Regions from separate parts of the Homo sapiens genome. Here all the other regions are linked to region 1. Evidence: promoter capture Hi-C in 16 types of primary human blood cells and fetal thymus (Javierre and others, 2016). All regions are on one chromosome and are shown on one strand. The core of a region is centred on a gene start or on the middle of the fragment in contact, and the rest is flanking DNA. Distances in the headings are between cores, read along the strand shown.

The links. The method cuts DNA at HindIII sites, captures the fragments that hold promoters and counts their contacts. A CHiCAGO score of 5 or more calls a contact.
Region 2: a contact is called between a fragment that was not itself captured here and the fragment with the promoter of BCL6B in region 1, in 1 of 17 cell types (monocytes). The highest score is 6.4, in monocytes.
Region 3: a contact is called between a fragment that was not itself captured here and the fragment with the promoter of BCL6B in region 1, in 1 of 17 cell types (total CD8 T cells). The highest score is 5.0, in total CD8 T cells.

The regions. Positions count from the first base shown.
Region 1 is chr17:7,021,677-7,024,485 of GRCh38, forward strand. BCL6B (BCL6B transcription repressor) reads left to right here and starts at 1,374. Exons shown (of 9, transcript NM_181844.4): 1 at 1,374-1,423; 2 at 1,984-2,174; 3 at 2,407-2,628; 4 at 2,725-2,809. The coding sequence starts at 1,996. RefSeq lists a silencer at 328-467. The HindIII fragment of the contact is 4,378 bases long and covers 1-2,809 here.
Region 2 is chr17:7,148,147-7,150,955 of GRCh38, forward strand. No RefSeq gene overlaps it. Among named protein-coding and RNA genes, the nearest start is that of ASGR1, 30 kb to the right of the region's middle. The HindIII fragment of the contact is 6,446 bases long and covers 1-2,809 here.
Region 3 is chr17:6,928,834-6,931,642 of GRCh38, forward strand. No RefSeq gene overlaps it. Among named protein-coding and RNA genes, the nearest start is that of ALOX12, 66 kb to the right of the region's middle. The HindIII fragment of the contact is 4,694 bases long and covers 1-2,809 here.

The DNA of each region.
Region 1 (2,809 bases), core at 124-2,623:
CATCTCTCAGATCAGGGACTTCAAATTAGGGTGGTTAAGCCCCCTCCTGCCCTCTCTCCCTCCTCCTTGTTTTCCCTTCTCGTTTACCCCACCCAATTTTAATGTTCAATTAAAAGTCACCTCCAAAGACATCTGGGTAGCAGTGTCTAGCTTAATTCGAAAAGAAAACCCGGAGTTCCCAGGCTCAGGTCCCGCTTCTTGTCCCACCCATTCCCCTGGCTCCTAAAGCCCGCGATTTCTCACCTCGGGTAGGAACCCCAGCCTGAGGGGAAAGTCCCCTCGGTCTCCTAACTCTAGCTCCCTCCGCCCAGCCCTAGTCCCCTCCTAGGAGACAGAGGTGCAAAATAAACCCGCGCAAAGGGGAGGAGGCTAAAGGTTTCAGCCGCCCAGACCAAATGGATCCTGCGCCCGGGTCTGAGCGCACCCCAGGCCGGGTGGAGACGAGGGGCGAGGCGAGGCCAGTGCTCGGCCGCCCCCTCGTGGAAGGAGCCGCACATTGCCGAGCCTTGCCTACTTGCCGCGCTGGACCCCGGCGTCCCGCCAGCCTCCAAGCGTAGCCGACGGGCGGGTGCCCGAGGCCCTCGTGAGCTGGGATTGGGGGAAAGCAAGCGGGCTTTGGGCGGGAGTCCATCTCTCTGGATCCCTACAAGGACCCAGAAGAGAGTCGGGAGCGAGAGAGGCCGGACGCCTAGGTCTCCCGAGCGTCTCTCGCCCCTCCACCCCCACCTCGGGGCTTTCCCCACCTCCTCGAGGGGAAGCAGCTGGCGGAGCCGTCCGGTCGCAGGACAATGGAAGGAAACCAACTAGAAATCATATCCGCCCTCTCCGTACCCCGCCCGGCCAGAGCCCCCCTTTTTGTAGGCCCGGGTAGAGTAGCCTGTCATTCACACCACACCCTCCCCGTCTGAGACCCTACGGGAGCCCACTGTCGTCTGCCCAAACCTGCTGTCTCGTTGGGCTCCCCCTTTTCTCCCTTAACACAGTACAAGAGAGGGAGAGGGGGTTGCCGTATGCACTTTGTCCTGCAGCAAAGGTTGGCTCCTGGCAAACCCTCCCAAAAGCCAACACACCAATTTTCACTGGCCCAGGCCTTCCGACGACTCAGACTCCCGTATTGCCAACCTCGATATCCCTAACCTCCTCCCCAATTCCAATATCCCCGTCCTCGTGTCCACTTGCAGTGACCCAAGACCCCCTACGTTACGACCACCCCTTGTTTCTGAGGTCCCGCCCTCGAGACGGAGACCCCGCCCTGGACTCGCCATCTGGAGAGCGAGGGAGGAAGGAAGGATACAGACCCAGGCGTTCACCCCACCTCCACCCCCGCCCCCGACATCCCGGCCAGATAAAGGAGCCGAGGCCAAGAGGGGAGAGAGACCCCGCCCCCCTTAAGAAGAGAAGCCGCGGCCCCTGCAGGACGGGGGTAAGAACAAGAGACTGAGGGAGCCAGACTCCTGGGTCCCCCAAGAGGGTAGGAGCTTGTGTGGAGCTTGCCATCAGCGAGCCTGAGTCCCAGAAATTGGGCTAAACTAGGGATTGGGGACTAGATAGGAGTCGCAGAATTCCGTAGTTCGGGGAAGGGAGCCTCGGCTGGGATTTGGAGGTGTGTGGACGGCAGGCCGTGAGATCTCGAGGCAGGGTTGGACACCTGAGACACAGGCGCGCAGAGGGGAGTGGCGGTGCTGGAGGGGCACTGGGGGTCGAACCCAGGGCGATGGGCGCGGGATTCCCCACGCTCGCCAACGACGCCGCGGTGTGGAACCTTCAACTGGCTCCAAGCGCTGTGGGATCTGGAAGAGGCAAGGGAGCGAGGGTGTCGTAGAGGGCAGAATGAACAAGAAGAATTAGGAGGGAGGCTGCGTGTGCCGGGGCTAGGGGCTGGAAGTCCTGGCTCTAGTTGCACCTCGGAAGGAAAAGGCAAACAGAGGAGGGAAGGCGTCTTAGGACTGCCTGGATCCAGAGCACTTTCCACGGCCTCTACAGGCCTGTGTCGCTATGGGTTCCCCCGCCGCCCCGGAGGGAGCGCTGGGCTACGTCCGCGAGTTCACTCGCCACTCCTCCGACGTGCTGGGCAACCTCAACGAGCTGCGCCTGCGCGGGATCCTCACTGACGTCACGCTGCTGGTTGGCGGGCAACCCCTCAGAGCACACAAGGCAGTTCTCATCGCCTGCAGGTTCGAGGGGTGGGGCCTGGGGCGGGGCCAAATGGGAAAGGGGTGGGACCACAGGGCCGTTGAGAGGGAATCCGAAGCCAAGTCTTTCAGAAGCAGGAGGCGGAGCGTCCCAGAATTGGGGGCGGGGTGATAGTGAGGAGGCGGGACTTTTTCAGGGGGCGGGGCTTCCTGAAGCTGCGCATGTCTCCCTTGGTTCCCCAGCCCCCAAAGGACTTATCTGCTCTCTCTCTAGTGGCTTCTTCTATTCAATTTTCCGGGGCCGTGCGGGAGTCGGGGTGGACGTGCTCTCTCTGCCCGGGGGTCCCGAAGCGAGAGGCTTCGCCCCTCTATTGGACTTCATGTACACTTCGCGCCTGCGCCTCTCTCCAGCCACTGCACCAGCAGTCCTAGCGGCCGCCACCTATTTGCAGATGGAGCACGTGGTCCAGGCATGCCACCGCTTCATCCAGGCCAGGTGAGGGACCCTGGCTCGGCGTTCTCTGTGGGTGAGGTGTTAAGGGCAAAGGCAGAGTTTAGGAAATGGCACTAACGTTCATCACACTTTCCCCAGCTATGAACCTCTGGGCATCTCCCTGCGCCCCCTGGAAGCAGAACCCCCAACACCCCCAACGGCCCCTCCACCAGGTAGTCCCAGG
Region 2 (2,809 bases), core at 90-2,589, 130 kb after region 1:
CAGCGCTAATGATTTGCTTGGTTGGTTGACTGAAATCTGGTGTCCTCTTGGCCGGGCGCGGCGGCTCACACCTGTAATCCCAGCACTTTGGGAGGCCGAGGCAGGTGGATCACGAGGTCAGGAGATCGAGACCATCCTGGCTAACACAGTGAAACCCTGTCTCTACTAAAAATACAAAAAAAAATTAGCCGGGTGTGGTGGCGGGCGCCTGTAGTCCCAGCTACTCGGGAGGCTGAGGCAGGAGAATGGCGTGAACCCGGGAGGCGGAGCTTGCAGTGAGCCGAGATCACACCACTGCACTCCAGCTTGGGCGAGAGTGCAAGACTCCGTCTCAAAAAAAAAAAAAGATATCTGGTGTCCTCAGGAGTGGTCTCTGCTGATTGAGATTGATATGATACCAAACTTCCCTGGTATAATGTATTATAGAAGAAAGAATCCACAGGCCGGACCTCAGAGCGGAGTGGGAATAACAGACCAGCCAGTCACCTACCTGGTAGCAGCTTATAAGTTAATGGCGAAGGACCTCATGAAGGGTGTAACATATAAATTGACTCATAATTCAGCGTATAGGTTTGCCTTTCCCTGCCCGCAGTGCTCCTGCCAGCACTGTCCTCCATGGAGTTTCAGAAAGCTGTGTTCACTGTCATAGTATACACAACACACTCCAGAGCAAGCAACTCACAGCAAAAGAACTGCGGCATATGGGCTCAAGCCATGGAATCCATTGATCTTACCACGTACCCCATCACCCAGAAGCAACTTGCCTGATACAATGGAATTACCAAGTAAACACTCCACAATTATGCCAGCTGGAAGACAGGCCCCTGCAGGATGGGGGTGCCAGCCTACAGGATACTCCATAGCATTTGAACAATTCCTCTCTAGTGAGAATTCACAGGTCCAGAAATCAAAGTGTTTTTCTCCCTATTACTTTTTTTTTTTTTTTTTGAGACGGAGTCTTGCCCTGTTGCCCAGGCTGGAGTGCAGTTGTGCAATCTTGGCTCACTGCAACCTCTGCCTCCCAGGTTCAAGTGATTCTCCTGCCTCAACCTCCTGAGAAGCTGGGATTTTTGTATTTTTTTTTTTTTTAGTAGAGATGGGGTTTCACCACGTTGGCCGGGCTGGTCTTGAACTCCTGACCTCGTGATCTGCCCGCCTCGGCCTCCCAAAGTGCTGGGATTACAGGGTGAGCCACCATGCCAGGCCTCCCTATTACATTTAATAACTCACCTGTGTTTGAGTTCTACCAACTTTAGAGGTCATAATTCCCAAGGGTGAAATGCTTCCATCAGGAAACATAATCAGTTCCACTGAACTGGAAGTGGAGGTTTCCCCTGTGGCCATTTGGGGCCCTTCCTACCGCTGAGCAATAGGAAAAGAGAGGTCCCTGGACTGCCTGGGATGACTGATCCTGGTTATCAAGGGGAAAGGAGGTTGCTGCTACACAGTGGGGGAAGGGGTGTATCTAGAACTCAGGGGGCCCAATGCCTTGTAATACAATTTCACAGAAACTATAACAACCCAATAAAGGCTTCAGACCCTGCAGAAATGATGATTTGTGTTTTCCCATCAGAAAAAGACCCCCTGTCTGCCAAGGTGCTGGTTGAAGGCAGAGGGAACATTCAATGGGTAGTGGAAGAAAGAAGTGACAGGCAGACGCGGTGGCTCACGCCTGTAATCCCAGCATTTTGGGAGGCTGAGGTGGGTGGATCACTTGAGGTCAGGAGTTTGAGACCAGCCTGGCAAACATGGTGAAACCCCATCTCTACTAAAAATACAAAAATTAGCTGGGCGTGGCGGCGGGTGCCTGTAATCCCAGCTACTTGGGAGGCTGAGGCAGGAGAATTGCGTGAACCTAGGAGGCAGAGGTTGCAGTGAGCCAAGATCACACCACTGCACTCCAGCCTGGGAGACAGAGGGAGATTCTGTCTCAAAAAAAAAAAAAAAAAAAAAAAAACGAAGGCAGTTACATCAACTACAGCTTTGCAACCATGGCAGAAATAACTGCTGTAGCAAACATGGGTATCTTTTCTTGTTTGTTACAAATATGTATATGTTAATTAATTCATTATTTCTTTTCTTTTCTTTTTTATTTAGATGGAGTCTCACTCTGTTGCCCAGGCTGGAGTGCAGAGGTGCAATCTCAGCTCACTGCAACCTCTGCCTCTCGAGTTCAAGTGATTCTCCTGCCTCAGGCTTCCGAGTAGCTGGGATTACAGGCGCCCACCACCACACCCGGCTAATTTTTGTAATTTTAGTAGAGATGGGGTTTCGCCATGTTGGCCAGGGTGGTCTGGAACTCCTGACCTCAAGTGATCCACCCGCCTCGGCCTCCCAAAGTGCTGGAATTACAAGAGTGAGCCACCGCACCCAGTCTATGTATTTCCTTTTTTTTTTTTTTTTTTTTTGAGACGGAGTCTTGCTCTGTTGCCCAGGCTGGAGTGCAGTGTTGCAATCTCGGCTCGCTGCAAGCTCCGCCTCCCAGGCTCATGCCATTCTCCTGCCTCAGCCTCCGGAGTAGCTGGGACTACAGGCGCCCGCCACCACGCCCAGAGTATTTTTTGTATTTTTAGTAGAGACGGGGTTTCACCGTGTTAGCCAGGATGGTCTCCATCTCCTGACCTCGTGATCCACCCGCCTTGGCCTTCCAAAGTGCTGGGATTACAGGCGTGAGCCACCGCGCCCAGCCCTATGTATTTCTTTTATAGAAATGTTTGTTTATATTTTTTCTCTTCTGGAGGAGTTTTTTTTGTTTTTTTTTGTTTTTTGTGTTTTTTGTTTTTGTTTTTGAGATGGAATTTCACTCTTG
Region 3 (2,809 bases), core at 156-2,655, 93 kb before region 1:
AAAGAAATTGAAAGGGACACAACAAAATGAAAAGATATTCCAGATTCACGAACTGAAATACTTAATATTGGTTAAATTATAATACTACTCAAAGCAATTTACAGATTAAATGCAATCCAATTACATTCTCTACAGAAATAGAAAAAAATCTTAAGACATATATGGAACCACAAAAGACCCCAAATAACCAAAGCAATCTGAGCAAAAGGAACAAAGCTGGAGGCATTACACTACCTGACTTCAAATTTTACTACAAAGCTATAGTAACCAAATCAGTATGACACTGGCATAAAAACAGACAGAATAGACCAATGGGACAGAATAGAGAACGCAGATGTAAATCCACACATTTACGGCCAGCTCATCTTCAACAAAGGTACCAAGAACATATAATGGGGGGAAGGATAGGCTTTTCAATAAATGGTGCCAAGAAAACTAGATAACTATATGCAGAAGAATGAAACTGGATCCTTCTCTCTTACCATATACAAAAAGCAAATCAAAATTGATTAAAGATTAAATCTAAATCCTCAAACCATGAAACTACTAGAAGAAAACATTGAGGAATCACTCCAGGACATTGGTCTGGGTGAAGATTTTTTTATGTCAGATCTCAAAAGCATAGGCAAACAAAGTAAAAATAGACAAATGGGATTATTTCAAGCTAAAAACTTCTGCATAGCAAAGGAAATAATCAATAAAGTGAAGAGAAAACCCACAGAATGGCAGAAAATATAACTAACCACCTGAGACGGGGTTAATAACCAGAAGGTATGGGGAGCTCAAACAACTCAATAGCAAAAACAAACAAACAAACAAAAACAACATAATCCAATTTAAAAATGGGCAATAGATCTGAGTAGACATTTCTCAAAAGAAGCCATACAAATGGCCAACAGGCATATAAAAAATATTCAACATCACAAATTATTAGAGAAATGCAAATCAATGAGATATCATCTCGCCCCAGTTAAAATGGCTTTTATCAAGAAGACAGGCAATAACGCAGGCTAGCGAGGATGTGGAAGAAAGGGAACCCTTGTACACTGTTGGTGGGAATGGAAATTAGTACAGCTACTACACAGAATAGCTTGGAGGTTCCTCAAAAAACTAAAAATTGTGCTACCATATGATCCAGGAATCCCACTCCTGGGTATATCTCCAAAAGAAAGGAAATGAATATATCAAAGAGCTATCTGCACGCCCATGTTTATTGCAGCACTATTCACAATAGCCAAAATATGGAATCGATCTAAGTGCCCATCAACGAATGAATGGCTAAAGAAAACGTGGTATATATACACAATGGAATATTATTCATCTGTAAAAAGGAATAAAATCCTGTCATTTGCAGCAACATAAATAAAACTAGAAGTCATTATGTTAAGTGACACAAAGAGACAAATACTACGTGTTCTCACTCATATGTGGAAGCTAAGAAAAAGTGGATCTCATGAAGGTAGAGAGTAGATTGGTGGTTACCAGAAGCCAGCAAGGGTAGCAGAAGTAGGGGATTCAAAGAAGTTGATAAATCAATACAAATATAAAGTTGAGAGAAGAAATAAGCTCCAGTGTTCAACAGATGAGTAGGGTGACTATAGTTTACAAAAACATACTGTACATTTCAAATTAGAAGAGAAAAATTCAAACATTTCTAGGATAAAGACAAATATTAAGGTGATGGATATCCCAAGTACACTGATGTGATGTATACAAATTATATGAATGTATTAAGTTATCATGTGTGCCCTGAAACTATGTAACTTATTATCCATCAATTTTTTAAATTGTTGAAAAAATGATTAAATGAATAAATAAAATATTGGGTCTTGGATGAGCCAGAAAATTTGGGAAGTCTGATTCTCTCTCAAATATTATATTCTAGGTATTCTTTGCCAGACAAAAGCATCATATCCCTTATAAAAATGCATCCAGTAGGTTATAATCTTGGGGGAAATGCCACATTATTTAGCTTCATTTTCCCCTTCAAGTCTTTCACATTGTTCAAAGCAGACAGCAAAGTGAAAGCATTATTTTGGGAGATGGGGAAAAGCCAGAATAGATTATTGGCAAGAAATAGAAACCACAAGATGAGGATCAAGAGTCAAGGTCCAGGTTTAGACAAGATCTCTGGATGTGGTTATTATGCCACAGAATCATCAAATGTCAACTGAGGTTTTAAATACTGCTTAAAAATGCCAAGCCTGGAAATAGGTGCCTGTAATTCTTCAGTCCTTCAGTAAATACCCAGGCTATTAAAGTAGGTAATTCCCAGGAATGAAATCCTCCTTGCACCTCTCTTAGGGGTGGCCATGGAGGACACAAAACACAGATATTTATCTTTGGAAGAAGGAGGTAGAACTGTTTTTGAAAATATATATAAAGTATAGTTGTGTTTGGAGAAGCAGAGGCATTTTTGAAACTATATGTATAATTAGAATGGTATGTGAATATATATACAACCAAAGACAAAGGGGTAAAATGGGGTAAAAATCTACTATTATTCACTATACGGCACTCATTCTCAACTACCTTCTCAGATCTAAACTCTACTTTTCTGTAGAGAACCCCTTCCCTGTGGTTAGGACAGGGCCAACACTGACTTGCCACCATGACGACATCAGTGGGTACATGACCTAGACTCAGCAAATTATGCTACCCATAACATCGGCTACCATGATCATTTAAGATCTGGACATGAAATCTAAACTAGGTTCTCCCTGGACATTTTCTGAAAGGTATTAGAGAGTGGGTGTAGTGGCTCACACCTGTAATTCCAACATTTTGGGAGGCTGAGGTGGGAGGATTG